Linked DNA regions of Homo sapiens: regions 1, 3, 4 and 5 are each linked to region 2. The links are contacts of gene promoters, found by promoter capture Hi-C in blood cells and fetal thymus (Javierre and others, 2016). All regions are on one chromosome and are shown on one strand. The core of a region is centred on a gene start or on the middle of the fragment in contact, and the rest is flanking DNA. Distances in the headings are between cores, read along the strand shown.

Region 1 (2,700 bases), core at 120-2,619, 500 kb before region 2:
AGATGACAAATACGCTACCTACAAATACCATTTTGAATATTTTTTCAAAATGGCTAAAAGTATAAACTTACACAATCTGTAGCATTAACTTCGACGCCAGCATCAAGTAGCATTCGTACAAGAGCCTCATTCTGCTTTGTCTTTGATACCTATTACAAATGGTAATTATAAGAAAGGCTTATTTACAAATAGTTTCTCCAATTTATGCCTGAGACTATTTAATCAATAGGCTTCATTTTAATCCCAACACTCCTATGCATGCATGCACCCTTCCTAAAATTTCCCCCAGCTTCTCACTCACTCTAATATCAATTAATTAAAGCCAGGTTCTCAGACTGTGGTCCTGAAGTAGCGGCACTGACACCTAAGAACCTTAGAAATGTACTTCTCAGGTCCCACCCCAAACCTACCTAATTCCACTGAGGATGGGGCCTAGTACCTGTCTTTCCCTTCCTGGCTCAAAGCTGTGCAATTACTTCCCATTGCTCTGAGGACAAAAGTAAACTCTTCAGCATGACCTACAAAGCCCCGTATGTTTTGGCTCCACGTATGGCCCTGCCCTGGCCTCTCTCTCACTCTGCGCCTCCTGGCTCACTCTGTTCTACTTACATTGGCCTTTGTTAATCTTTCATTCTCAGAGAATCATTGCACAGGAAGTTCCTTCTGCCTAGAAGCCTCCTCCCTCTCTTCTTTGCCTGGCATATTCACCTTTCATTCATCAGCCCAAGTCCCTCTTTCTCTAAGAAGCTTTCCCTGACCCACCTGACCAGGTGAAATCCCTCTTTTTTAGCTATCCTAACACCAGTCGCCTTTCTGTATCACCCGCTTTATGGTAATTTTACATGTGTTTGTGCCATTTGATTAATGACTCTCCCCACCACCCTCTAACTCTCATGGGGTAAAAAACTATGCCTATTTTGTTCATCATTGTGTCCCTAACAGCTAGCACAGCGTCTGGCACATAGTAGGTCCATAATAAACATACGTTAAAGAATTGAACAAATTAATGAAATGAACTAGGACTCCTCAGAAATTCACTTTTCCTTCCCAGTCTCCTGAGCTTCTGACCACAAGCCTGTTGGAGTCTTCCCCAACTTCCAGTCTCCTGAAGAGGCAAAGCTCTCCCTGCTCAGCTGGGTATAGCCCTGGAGTTCAACCCTGTCATCACCTGGGAAGCTCCATCCAGTTCTCTCTCCTTAGGCTTCCCTCTTGTGTCACCTCCTAAACTGCCTTTCTCTGCCTACTTTTCTCTGAAATAACCCAATGCTTTCCTCTCTCCTCCCCTATCATTTCCTCTCATGTCACTTATTTGTTAATTCATCACAAATTTACAACTTTAGGCCCCATTAATAAATTGCACGTGCATGAAACTAGAGTTGAGCTATTCATTACGATTACTATTTTTGCCCAGTCCTCCAGCCTCTAAACATTGAACCATCTTAGAAAGCAGAGTTGTGTGTCAATAAATTCTGAATGAGCCTTCTAATCACAGTTGTAATTTTTACCTTTAGAATCTCTAAAAATGTTTGTAAATAAATAACAGATTCTCCCTGCCCCCAAAATACATGTATTTAAATGCTATGTGCTAAATACATAATGAATTTTTAAAGAATTCTTCGAGGATATGAGCAGATTATATTTTTATTAGTGAATTAAAGTTCTTTTCTCTCTCCTATAAATCCAAATATAAAAATCAACATTGTCATGTTTAATTATAGTTCCTCAAATTCTGTGGCATTTAAATACCCAATGAAATAATAACATTTTTGACGGGCAGACTTGTTCTGCGGCTGATGTTAACAGGTGTAACCAATATTCACAGTTTATGAGCTACAACAAGGAGGGAGCTTGGTCATTTAATTAAAGTAAATTATGCATCTCTTGAGTCATGTCTGAGAAGTGGAACTGGGCACAAAGGAAACTAGATGGATAAAAGTGAGTAAGTCAGTGCAGATCTGTTACCCTATTGGGAAAAAAAACCAAAAACCATCTCAAGCTTCATCTTCTACTCCTCATATGACTGCATCTCTATACCAACTACATCTTTCTTTATTCAAGAAAATTGCTGTCTGCCAAGATTCATCCAAGCATGAAGAAATTCATCAAGGTGAAAATGGGCTTAAATTCTCAACAAGTATCTTCTGTGTGTGTCAGCTTCTGGATGCAAACTTTTAGGATCTGTTTTTCAACACACCACCAGAGGAGTACTTAAAAATCAGTAAGTCAGAAAGATAAATCCAAAAACACAAACTCCTCTTTTAAAAAAAGGAGAAAAAAATATTAGAAGGGGTGTTTTTTAATATTCAGAATTTTTTTGCTCCCTTCAGAAAAGTCTTAGTTAAGGTTAAATTATTTTTCTAAATCAACATTGCATGGATTATGTTACCATTGATTAACTATTTTTGCTAGCTTTCTTCTTGCTGTACTTCAATTATAGCATTGGATGTATGTTGAACATGTCAATTACAGAATACAAACCAAAGGCTTTTTTTGTTTTTATTTCTTTTCAACATCTCACTGGCCTGGCAAGAGTCAATGAGTCACACCATCGATCTCCACATTTGCCCTTTGCTCTACAAGTGTTGTACTCACCATGAGGAAATACCCAATAAGCAGAACAGGCATTAAGAGGATAATTAGTAGATAATCAATGAAGGTAAATTTTTTCTTCACAGCATAATGCAAGCAGGTTCTCTCTTT
Region 2 (2,700 bases), core at 57-2,556:
AATATATATATCTACTATGTGTCCACAAAAAATTTTTAAAAATAATAAGAATTGGCTTAAAAAATGCTGTTTCCTGGGCCCCACCCTAGACTGATGGTCAGATACCTAATGTTGACAAAAAAAGTCAAACTCTGTAAAACATTTGAAGAGATTTATTCTAAGCCAAATATGAATGACCTATGGCCTGTGACACAGCCCTCAGGAGATCCTGAGAACATGTGCCAGGCCACAACTTGGTTTTATACATTTTAGGGAGACATAAGGCATCAATCAATACATGTAAGGTGTACATTGGCTAGGTCCAGAAAGGTGGGACAATTGGAAACAGGGAAGCGGGGCAGCTTCCAAGTCATAGGCAGATTCAAAGATTTTCTGATTGACAATTTGTTGAAAGAGTTATTATCAATAGAAAGGAATGTTTGGAGACATCCAATAGAAATTCAATAGACAATCATTAGAAAGGAATGTCTGGGTCGTGGAGACCAAGGTTTTATTATGCAGATGAAGCCTCCAAGTAGCAGGCTTCAGAGAGAATAGGTTGTAAATGTTTCTTAATACACTTAAAAAGAGCATGTTCTGGCTGGGTGCAGTGGCTCATGCCTGTAATCCCAGCACTTTGGGAGGCCAAGGTGGTTGGATCACCTGCTATCAGGAGTTCAAGACCAGCCTGACCAACATGGCGAAACCTCGTCTCTACTAAAAATACAAATATTAGCCGGGCATGGTGGTGGGTGCCTGTAATCCCAGCTACTCGGGAGGCTGAGGCAAGAGAATCACTTGAACCCAGGAGGCAGAGGTTGCAGTGAGACGCAATCATGCCACTGCATTCCAGCCTGGGCAACAGAGTAAGACTCTGTCTCAAAAAAAAACAAAAACAAAAACAAAAAAAGAGTGTGTTCTATTAGTAATTCCAAAAGGAAAAAGGATGTAATGAGGCATATCCAGCTTCCCCTTCACATCAGTTTTCAGGTTAACTTTGGAATGCCCTTGGCCAAAAGCAGGGGTCCAGTCACATGGTTGGTGAGTATGGCCTTAGAATTTAATTTTTTGGTTTACATTAGGAATGCTTCCACATTCTCTCAAACAAATTTTAGTCACAGTTTTGAATAACGTACTCTGGCTCAGCCATTGCAGGTCTCAAGCCGTTAGGTTTCATTTTCCTCCTCCCAACGATTTTAAATTAGTTTCACTTTCCAGTTTCCTCTTCCTTCCCCTAAAAGCAATTACTCAAAAACGGAGAAAACATCAGCTGATGCGTGCCCTACTCTCCCACCCCTTTATATAGTTCCTTCAGTATTTACTTGAGGCAGACAGGAAGACTTCTGAAGAACAAATCAGCCTGGTCACCAGCTTTTCGGAACAGCAGAGACACAGAGGGCAGTCATGAGGTCAGTGAAATAAGAATGCATAATCATGCTTGTTTTTGAGTGCAAATTGTAAGTTGAGTTTCTTACTGTGCAGGCACATTCCTGAATTGTCCTGATGTTTATAGATTCAATATGTCTTTATCAGTCTGAGCATTTGTAAGATGTTTGAGGGGTTTTTCCCTGTGGCTTTTTTTGGTGTACACACAGGCTTCTTAAGTTTCTGGAATGGTTCCCTACGGAACTACATGGGGGGAGGCAGGGTGGGGAATGCATCAGCTCATGTTTCCTCCCTGTGTGCAGCTATTTCCTGCAATGAGAGGAAGGCTTGGCAGGAGCGGTGTATTTCACTCAGCCACAAACTTGGCTGATTCAAGGGTAGACCTAAGGGAATTACTCTTTTGGGTTTTTCTGTTATTGTCATTTTGTTTGAAAAGATTAAGTCACAGGCTTTTTTTCTTGTAATTTTAAAAGGAGGAATTTATTTTCAACAGATATTGTGAAAGATACAATCAGTACTGCAAACCCACTCATGAAGAAGGCAATTTTGCCCTGAAACGTTGCATTACTTTAAGGTGGGAAGTGGAAGAAACAATTCTTACAAATGGGCATTTTTGTCATTTCTTATATAAAAACAAACCCAAAGCTTAGCATTTATTTTTATTGATGTAGTGAATGCTGGTCAGCAGCAAAAAAAGAATTTCTCCTCAAAAGTGTAATGACCTAATCTATTATCTAAAACTAGTCTAATCTCTAATGGTGGGAAGCAGATCAGTGGTTGCCTGGAGATGGTGGGGATTGAGTAGGAAGGCTCCCAAAAGAATCTTTTTAGAATCATAGGAATAGTCTATAGGGAGGTAGTGATGGTGGCTACATATGCATAAACATTTACCAAAACTCATCAGACTATACACTGAAAATGGGTGCATCTTATTGTATATAAAGCATAATCTCAGTAAACTTGATTTTTAAATTTATATATTGACCTCCTGGAGTTCTTCAGGGGATAGCATGTTAGGGAGAACTAAGAGAAAAGGATGCCTTTCCCACCAAGCATCTCTAGGAAAGGAGTGAGGAGGTGATTGCCAGGGAGGGAAGACCCCATCGACCATTCAGGGGGGCAGAAAAGGAAAACTGGATTCCCTACCTTACTCTGCCCCAAGGACTTGAAGATGCTCTGCAATGTCATGTTTGGGGATGAGATGGGTAAGAGGAATTCACTGCCAAATACCTCAGTATATAGAATACCCTTTTATATAGAATAAGTTCCTGGTCAAGAGTGATGTTAATTGTGTCTGTGTGAGTGGGATTGACCAGAGAGCAAGGCGTCTTAGTA
Region 3 (2,700 bases), core at 12-2,511, 320 kb after region 2:
GCTCCCTGTGCTGCCTTCAATTCCTTAAACAACATTCTGCTGTTTCCATTGCCTTAGAGAAGTCTCTTCTCTAAGACCTCTTTTGTCTACTAGACTCCAACTTTAGATCTCCTCTTTAACTTCTCATATTTAGAGAAATGTTCCCTGACCCTTAGGGCTACATTAGGTCTCCCTGCCATACCCTCTTCCTACTCCTTGTACTCTGTTTATGACTCCTTATCATTTTGTAACTATACCATGCATCTGTTCCCTCATTTGTAACTTGAGAATAATAGGACATCACTGAGTTGTTAGACTGATGAAATGCATAACACATGCGTAAAATTAATTCAAACTTCAAGCTATTGGAACTTTTTTGTGAGACTTGAGAGAAATGTGGCTATGCAGCTACAACTTCTGCTTTTTTTTTTTTTTTTTTTAAGACAAGGTCTCACTCCTTCACCCAGGCTGGAGTGCAGTGGCACAGTCGTAGCTTACTGTAGCCTCCAACTCCTGGGCTCAAGCGATCCTCCCACCTTGGCCTCCCAAAGTATTGGAATTATAGGAATGAGCCACCATGCCTGGGCTTGCCTTTTTTCCTTGTAAATAATTAGGAAGACCGAGCAGGGCCAGAGATACTAATCCCTTGGATCACTGCCTCTCCTCACAGAGTAATAATCTTCCTTGGAATGCAGCAGTCTGCAACCAATCAAATCGCTGTGGCATATGCATTGGTCTTGTATGGAAAATGTAATTCTGCTGGAACTTCTCCATCTCTGCCAGTATAAGTGAAATCTTAACTTCTCCACTTTGGAGCACTGATCCCACTCATTTGGAGTTAGTGTTTCCAGGTGGCTATCCTCAAGCTTTGCACTCAAACTTCATACTTAATCATGTTCTCTAAATCTCATTATTTAAGGTTAACATATGTAAAGTGTCCAGCACATTGTAAGTGCTAGAAAAAGACATTATTATTATTTGATTGCCCATCTTACCCCACTTCACTGTAAGCATCTTTAAGGCAGATGACTTGTTCATCACTCTATCCCTAGGAGGCACTTGGTAATTATTTGTGACTGGATAAATGACTTATATCAAGCTTGTCTAGCCTGTGGCCCACAGCCTGCATGCGGCTCAGGACGGCTTTGAATACGGCCCAACACAAATTCATAAACATGAGATTTATTTTTGTGACTTTTTTTTTTTTAGCTCATTAGCTATCATTAGTGTTAGTGTATTTTATGTGTGGCCCAAGACAATTCTTCCTCTTCCAGTGTGGCTCATGGAAGCCAAAAGATTGGACACCCCTGACTTAGATGATATTTCACACAGAGTCCCCCTCACTTTCTACTGTAAATTTGCTAAAAATCACCAGCCACTCCTAAATATTCAAATATATCATTTTCAAATTCCCACATAATTGAGCTGAGTGGCTTAGGAAGCAAATTACATCAGAGATGCAAATAGAAGCTTTAGCATTGCAATATCTCCAAGGACATATTTTTTCTAGCTGGATTCCCAGGCCTGCTGAGGAAGGCCTGAGCCAGGTGGCTCAGACCCAGGCAGGGCAAAAGTACTGGTACTGGGACAGAACGTCCTCCACCTGCTTCCTTTCTCCTACCCTTGTCAGGCTGGGTGCTTGGATCAGTTACACCCAGCGTATGGTAGGGAAGAAGCCAGGTGGCATCTCACAGGTTTATTCAGGGGTGTGTGTAGGAGGTGTAACTTTGAGGCGTGAGCTGTCATGTCCTCCAGGAGGGGCATGCAACAAATGTTTGGAAGAGAGTGAGGGAGAAGGGAACCCACAAACCAGTGCACTCCCTTGGGTCTTATTCATTTATTTAATAATCATTTATTGTGTGTACTATGTTGTAGGCACTAAAGCATGCTGGGAATACAAAGACAAAATAGATGGCTTCACTGCCCTCAAAGGGCTTACAATTCAGTAGAGAGAGAAAAGTCAGTGATTCTCCAGCATCAGTGTTATGTAAGAATAACCTAGGGAATTTTTCCTTTTTAAATTTGTATTAAAACTAACATACATACAGAAAAGTATGCATATCTTATAAAGCTCAAGGTATTTTGCAAAAAATGAACATGCAGTGTAACTTGCAACCCAGGATATTTTGTAAGCACAGATTCTGGGTCCAGTTCCCATAGACTGATTCATCAGTAGGTGATGATGATGATAACGAAGATGATAATAAATATTTTTAAAATTAAAAAAATAACTTTTTCAAAAACAGGGGATTTGATGCAGATGATCATCATGGCTTGGAGAAACAATGAAGGAAGCAAAGTATGCCATCTATGCTGCGGGAGGTAACTCCAGAAGACCCCAGAGAGTGAGCAATGACAGAGTCAGGGGTGGGGGTTTATGGGGGAGTGGTGCTGAGGTGGAAGCTAAAACAGGTTTCAGGGAGGAAATGACCCTTAAACTGAATTTTGAATAATATTGGCCTTTCTTCAGGTGAATAGGGAGGGAAGGTTTAAAAGAATCTACTCAGAACTGAAGGAGCCAAGACTCTGTGGGTGCATTTGAAACAACCTGGCATTTTTGGGAAACTGCCAGGAGTTCCACAAGGCTGAAGAGCAGCCTGAGAAGGGAGAAGGTGAGCAGTAATGGCTGAAAAGTTTATGTAACCAACCAACAGGCTCATTTTACCTGCTGCCCAGATACAGCCGATTTATCAAGACAGGGGAATTGCAAAAGAGAAAGAG
Region 4 (2,500 bases), core at 1-2,500, 340 kb before region 2:
CAAAGCACATATTCCTATCTCCTTGAACTTGAGGATAATTAGACGTACGTGGGCAGAGGGTAGGGGAAGGGGGTATGGCATAGAAAGAGCAGGACCTTGGGAGCAAGAATATCTAAGTTTAATTCCTGACTCTGCTATTTATTAACTAACCATCTTTGCCAATGTTGCTTAAGCTTTTTTGGCTACATTTTTTTATTTGTAAAGTAAGTTTAATAATCACTCATCTCACTGGGCTATAATGATAAGTATTAAGTAAGGAAGATCCACATATGTGAGTTGCTGGCTTATAATTCACACTCAAGAGATACTGATTTTGTCAATTGTCCTTTCCCCTTTTTTTCTCTCTTCCCTCCTTCCATTCCTTCTTCCCTTACCTCTCCTTTCCTTCCCTCACACCCCTTTTCCTTCCTTCTTTTTACATTTTTTTATTTAAATGAACTTTTCATTTTGGAATAGTTTTAGGATTTCAAAAAATTTGCAGAGATAATACAGAGAATGCCCATATACCATCCTCCTTATCCCACTTCTTTTTGTGTCTATTAGATGCTCAGAGTGTGTGCACAAGGCTGGCACGCCCAGGGTCTTCCTCATGGCACTAACAGTCTACTGAAAGGTGGAACAGAGACAAGCCTATCAACACCTACAAGACTGGTGGTAAGTGCAGTGACAGATGCAAAACACAGGGTGATGGAAAGCCCTCAGGAGGGTAACCTAACCTAGATTTGAGGGCCCAAACAGGCTCCAGAAGAAAATGTCAACTGAGAGGAAGCCTGAAGGATGAACAGTGGGCTAAGCAAAGGGTTATTAATGTGTTATTAATGGGTTGAATCTAATTGGGAAGGGAGAGAGGTTGCAGAGTGAGGTGCAGAGCTTGGTGGACGATGCCAAAGGAATACTGAAACCTTTAGTGTGTCCAGTCTGGAACTGCATCCAAATTCAGGTTCAGTAATGATGTCATTATCCAAACATACCTTCTGTAAAATTCATGCTAAACTACCTAAGAGCTATCTACCGTTCCAAAGCAATAGTGACTTTGAACAGTGTTCACCAGAGCACGAAAGAATTACAAGATTTTTTTTTAAAGAAAATTGGCCAGGAAATAATGAGTAACGAAGGACAGGAAGTAATTGTGAATGTTTAATATAGCTGGGGCTATGCGATTTGGCTTAAGTTGTTAGCTTTGTTTTCCTCTTGAGAAATAAAAACTAAGGGGCCCTCCCTTTTCAGAGCCCTATGGCGCAACATCTGTACTTTTTCATATGGTTAACTGTCCATTCCAGAAACGTCTGTGAGCCTCTCATGTTGCAGCCACAACATGGACAGCCCAGTCAAATGCCCCGCAAGTCTTTCTCTGAGTGACTCCAGCAATTAGCCAAGGCTCCTGTACCCAGGCAGGACCTCTGCGCTCTGAGCTCCATTCTCCTTCAAGACCTCCCCAACTTCCCAGGTTGAACTACAGCAGAAGCCTTTAGAAAGGGCAGGAGGCCGGCTCTCGAGGTCCTCACCTGAAGTGAGCATGCCAGCCACTGCAGGAACGCCCCGGGACAGGAATGCCCATTTGTGCAACGAACCCTGACTCCTTCCTCACCCTGACTTCTCCCCCTCCCTACCCGCGCGCAGGCCAAGTTGCTGAATCAATGGAGCCCTCCCCAACCCGGGCGTTCCCCAGCGAGGCTTCCTTCCCATCCTCCTGACCACCGGGGCTTTTCGTGAGCTCGTCTCTGATCTCGCGCAAGAGTGACACACAGGTGTTCAAAGACGCTTCTGGGGAGTGAGGGAAGCGGTTTACGAGTGACTTGGCTGGAGCCTCAGGGGCGGGCACTGGCACGGAACACACCCTGAGGCCAGCCCTGGCTGCCCAGGCGGAGCTGCCTCTTCTCCCGCGGGTTGGTGGACCCGCTCAGTACGGAGTTGGGGAAGCTCTTTCACTTCGGAGGATTGCTCAACAACCATGCTGGGCATCTGGACCCTCCTACCTCTGGTGAGCCCTCTCCTGCCCGGGTGGAGGCTTACCCCGTCTTAGTCCCGGGGATAGGCAAAGTGGGGCGGGCGCGGGACGCGTGCGGGATTGCGGCGGCAGCGGCGCACGCGGGCACCTGGGAGCGGCGGGCTGCTGCGGGAGGCGTTGGAGACTGGCTCCCGGGGGCTGTTAGGACCTTCCCTCAGGCCCGGGTGCTCAGAACGCTGGAGGACTTGCTTTTCTTGGGCCTTGATGCGAAGTGCTGACCCCGCTGGGCAGGCGGGGCAGCTCCGGCGCTCCTCGGAGACCACTGCGCTCCACGTTGAGGTGGGCGTGGGGTGCGGACAGGAATTGAAGCGGAAGTCTGGGAAGCTTTAGGGTCGCTGGAGGGGGACCCCGGTTGGAGAGAGGAGCGGAACTCCTGGACAAGCCCTGACAAGCCAAGCCAAAGGTCCGCTCCGGCGCGGGTGGGTGAGTGCGCGCCGCCCCGCGGGGGCGGGGAGAGAGCCTGCAGCCTTCAGAACAGATATTGCTCATTTT
Region 5 (2,700 bases), core at 29-2,528, 460 kb before region 2:
TAATGTTCATTGCTATTTTAGAGATCTGGAAATTGAGACTTAGAGTCAGTAACTTACCTAAGAATAAAGAGCTTGTAAGTGGCAGAACTGGGACTCCTGTAGCATCTCTCAGTGCTGGACATTTAGAAGTCATCTGGTGACAATTTGTTGAGCTGATGTAATTGGATGTAAAGATTGTAAGATTTTTTTTTAATGTAGGAAAATGTTCTCCATTTGTTAAAAGAAAAAAGTTATTAAGGAACATGCATATTCTAATACTAGTTTGGTAAAATAAACATAGAATGATATATGGAGTAGTATGTGTGTTTGTATAAATAGATGTATCTAAGAGTAGATAAGCCAAAGTGCTGGATCTTTCTGGGTGGTGAGATCACAAGATGATTTTAATTTTTCTGTTTTTAGATCTTTATTTTAAAAACATTCTAGTTTTATATGAAGAAGAGGTAAATAGTTGGCTGTTTGCCTCAAAGTTTGGTTGGGTAATTCGTTAAATGGCATCCTAAAAGTCTGGGGATAAGAGAGGCGAAATGTTTGTCTGATCAGAAAAGGAGCAGTGTAGGAGGCAGATGTGAGTCCCAGCAGTTTTTCCAGAGCCCCCAGGCTCATCCTAGACCTCCTCTGTCAGGAACACCTAGTTTAAGGCAAGTCCTCAGGGGCATGTCCTAGATCCCCTCATCAGAGGACTCACTGGAGGTCATCAGCTCATGGAAATCCTTTAGAGCAACCAGATTTGTCTCCTGCAGCATTAAATATCTTTATTCTTCAATGATATATATTTTTTCTTTTTTTACAGTGAGTAGGAAGACCAAAATGAGAACATATTGGGGAAAGACCTAAGGTTTTACCATCTTAAGCCCAGATGATTGCTTCGAGTCTGTCTCCTCTCCAAATCATCTTGAACACAGTGGCCTGAAGCCCCTTTCAAAATGGCCTTTTACAGTGGTGTATTAGAGAGAAGATGTATTTCTTTTACAACTTTAAAAATTTTTATTATTATACAAATAATAGATTTTTTTCAGAAATATTGGAAAAGCAGAGAAATAATACCATTCAAAAAATAAAGGAAAAAGAAGAAACTGAAGATCACACGTAATTCCATCCCCCATCATCCAAGAGCTTCTGGAATTCAACTCATTCTCCAGGCACTGAGATAATGCTAGAGGAAGTTATTTATGTTGCAAAAGCTTCCTTAGGCTAAGTCAATATAGATTTTAATCAAGCTAGTATCAAATCTTAATGAAACATGTGCTAAGAGATGCATTTTGTTTCCTTTGTCTCCTAGCCTGCATTGCAAATGTCTCTTTTTGGCCCTGACATCAGGGCTGAAACAGAAACTAAATACTTAAGTAAAGTGCATCATTGTCCAGAAAAGTAAGCTTGGATATTTGCATGTTAAATGCCCTGTAAATACAAAGACAGATTTTGCTTCCCCCACCACACACAACTTCCTATTGCTGTGTGTGTGAATTAATGAACTTACAGGATAGCTCAGGGATGTCTCTTCATCTGTTTCAGCCTTAACTACTACTTCCTAATTGAGAATTGTCTTTTACTACTAACCATGATGATGATAATTTATTGGGTATCCACACAGGCTAAGCACTTTAGTAGACCAGCTCACGAATATTTACAAACTTTCTTTAAATTAGGATTATTCTCCCTGTCGTATAGATGAGGAAACAGAAATTAATTTACTGGCTCAAAGGCCACAAAAATGCAAAGTGGCAAACTAAGCTTCCCAGGTCTATCTGGTTCCAGAGCTTTTTGTCTTAACCATTGGAGTAAATAGCTTCACTTTCTGCCAAAGTGGCTTGTGCTCATGGTTCCAATAATCCAAGTAGAGAAGAACATTTTGGATCAAGAGGGTACAGGGTCATCGACTCAACCTTAATTTTCTAAAGATCACACCTGATGACCTAAAATTCAACTGTCTTGGGGCCAATAATGGCTGTTTGGTTGAACACAGGTGCCTATCGAATTTTTTTTTTATATATATACTTTAAGTTCTGGGATACATGTGCAGAACGTGCAAGTTTGTTACATAGATATACACGTGCCATGGTGGTTTGCTGCACCCAACAGCCTGTCATCTACATTAGGTATTTATCCTAATGTTATCCCTCCCCTTGCTCCCCTCCCCCTGTCATGCCCCCGTGTATGATGTTCCCCTTCCTGTGCCCATATGTTCTCATGGTTCAACTCCCACTTATGAGTGAGAACATGCGGTGTTTGGTTTTCTGTTCCTGTGTTAGTTTGCTAAGAATGATGGTTTCCAGCTTCATCCATGTCCCTGCAAAGGACATGAACTCATTTTTTATGGCTGCATAGTATTCCATGCTGTATATGTGCTACGTTTTCTTTATCCAGTCTATCATTGATGGGCATTTGGGTTGGTTCCATGCCTTTGCTATTGTGAATAGTGCTGCAATAAGCATACTTGTACATGTGTCTTTGGAGTAGAATGATTTATTATCCTTTGGATATATATCCAGTAATTAGATTGCCAGGTCAAATGGTATTTCTAGTTCTAGATCCTTGAAGAATTGCCACACTGTCATCCACAATGGTTGAATTAATTTACACTACCACCAACAGTGTAAAAGCATTCCTATTTCTCCAGCATCTATTGTTTCCAGCATCTATTGTTTCCAGACTTTTTAATAATCACCATTCTAACTGATGTGAGATCGTATCTCATTG

What was found. The method cuts DNA at HindIII sites, captures the fragments that hold promoters and counts their contacts. A CHiCAGO score of 5 or more calls a contact.
Region 1: a contact is called between a fragment that was not itself captured here and the fragment with the promoter of IFIT3 in region 2, in 1 of 17 cell types (non-activated CD4 T cells). The highest score is 6.1, in non-activated CD4 T cells.
Region 3: a contact is called between a fragment that was not itself captured here and the fragment with the promoter of IFIT3 in region 2, in 1 of 17 cell types (erythroblasts). The highest score is 5.8, in erythroblasts.
Region 4: a fragment that was not itself captured here is called in contact with the fragment with the promoter of IFIT3 in region 2 in 1 of 17 cell types (activated CD4 T cells); the score reaches 5.1 in activated CD4 T cells.
Region 5: a contact is called between a fragment that was not itself captured here and the fragment with the promoter of IFIT3 in region 2, in 1 of 17 cell types (non-activated CD4 T cells). The highest score is 7.3, in non-activated CD4 T cells.

What each region holds. Positions count from the first base shown.
Region 1 is chr10:88,825,967-88,828,666 of GRCh38, forward strand. ANKRD22 (ankyrin repeat domain 22) reads right to left here. Exons shown (of 6, transcript NM_144590.3): 3 at 2,593-2,700; 4 at 72-149. Among named protein-coding and RNA genes, the nearest start is that of ANKRD22, 25 kb to the right of the region's middle. The HindIII fragment of the contact is 1,249 bases long and covers 746-1,994 here.
Region 2 is chr10:89,326,691-89,329,390 of GRCh38, forward strand. IFIT3 (interferon induced protein with tetratricopeptide repeats 3) reads left to right here and starts at 1,307. Exons shown (of 2, transcript NM_001549.6): 1 at 1,307-1,388. The coding sequence starts at 1,384. It also overlaps a transcript of LIPA not described here. RefSeq lists an enhancer at 1,075-1,314 and a silencer at 1,635-1,684. The HindIII fragment of the contact is 8,842 bases long and covers 1-2,008 here.
Region 3 is chr10:89,646,698-89,649,397 of GRCh38, forward strand. PANK1-AS1 (PANK1 antisense RNA 1) reads left to right here. Exons shown (of 5, transcript NR_184344.1): 2 at 2,226-2,301; 3 at 2,450-2,591. Among named protein-coding and RNA genes, the nearest start is that of PANK1, 2.8 kb to the left of the region's middle. The HindIII fragment of the contact is 371 bases long and covers 1,077-1,447 here.
Region 4 is chr10:88,988,926-88,991,425 of GRCh38, forward strand. FAS (Fas cell surface death receptor) reads left to right here and starts at 1,873. Exons shown (of 9, transcript NM_000043.6): 1 at 1,873-1,981. The coding sequence starts at 1,952. FAS-AS1 (FAS antisense RNA 1) reads right to left here. Exons shown (of 1, transcript NR_028371.1): 1 at 2,497-2,500. It also overlaps a transcript of ACTA2 not described here. RefSeq lists a silencer at 569-618 and enhancers at 1,026-1,537, 1,538-2,048, 2,189-2,500. The HindIII fragment of the contact is 2,159 bases long and covers 172-2,330 here.
Region 5 is chr10:88,868,939-88,871,638 of GRCh38, forward strand. No RefSeq gene overlaps it. Among named protein-coding and RNA genes, the nearest start is that of STAMBPL1, 10 kb to the right of the region's middle. The HindIII fragment of the contact is 192 bases long and covers 1,183-1,374 here.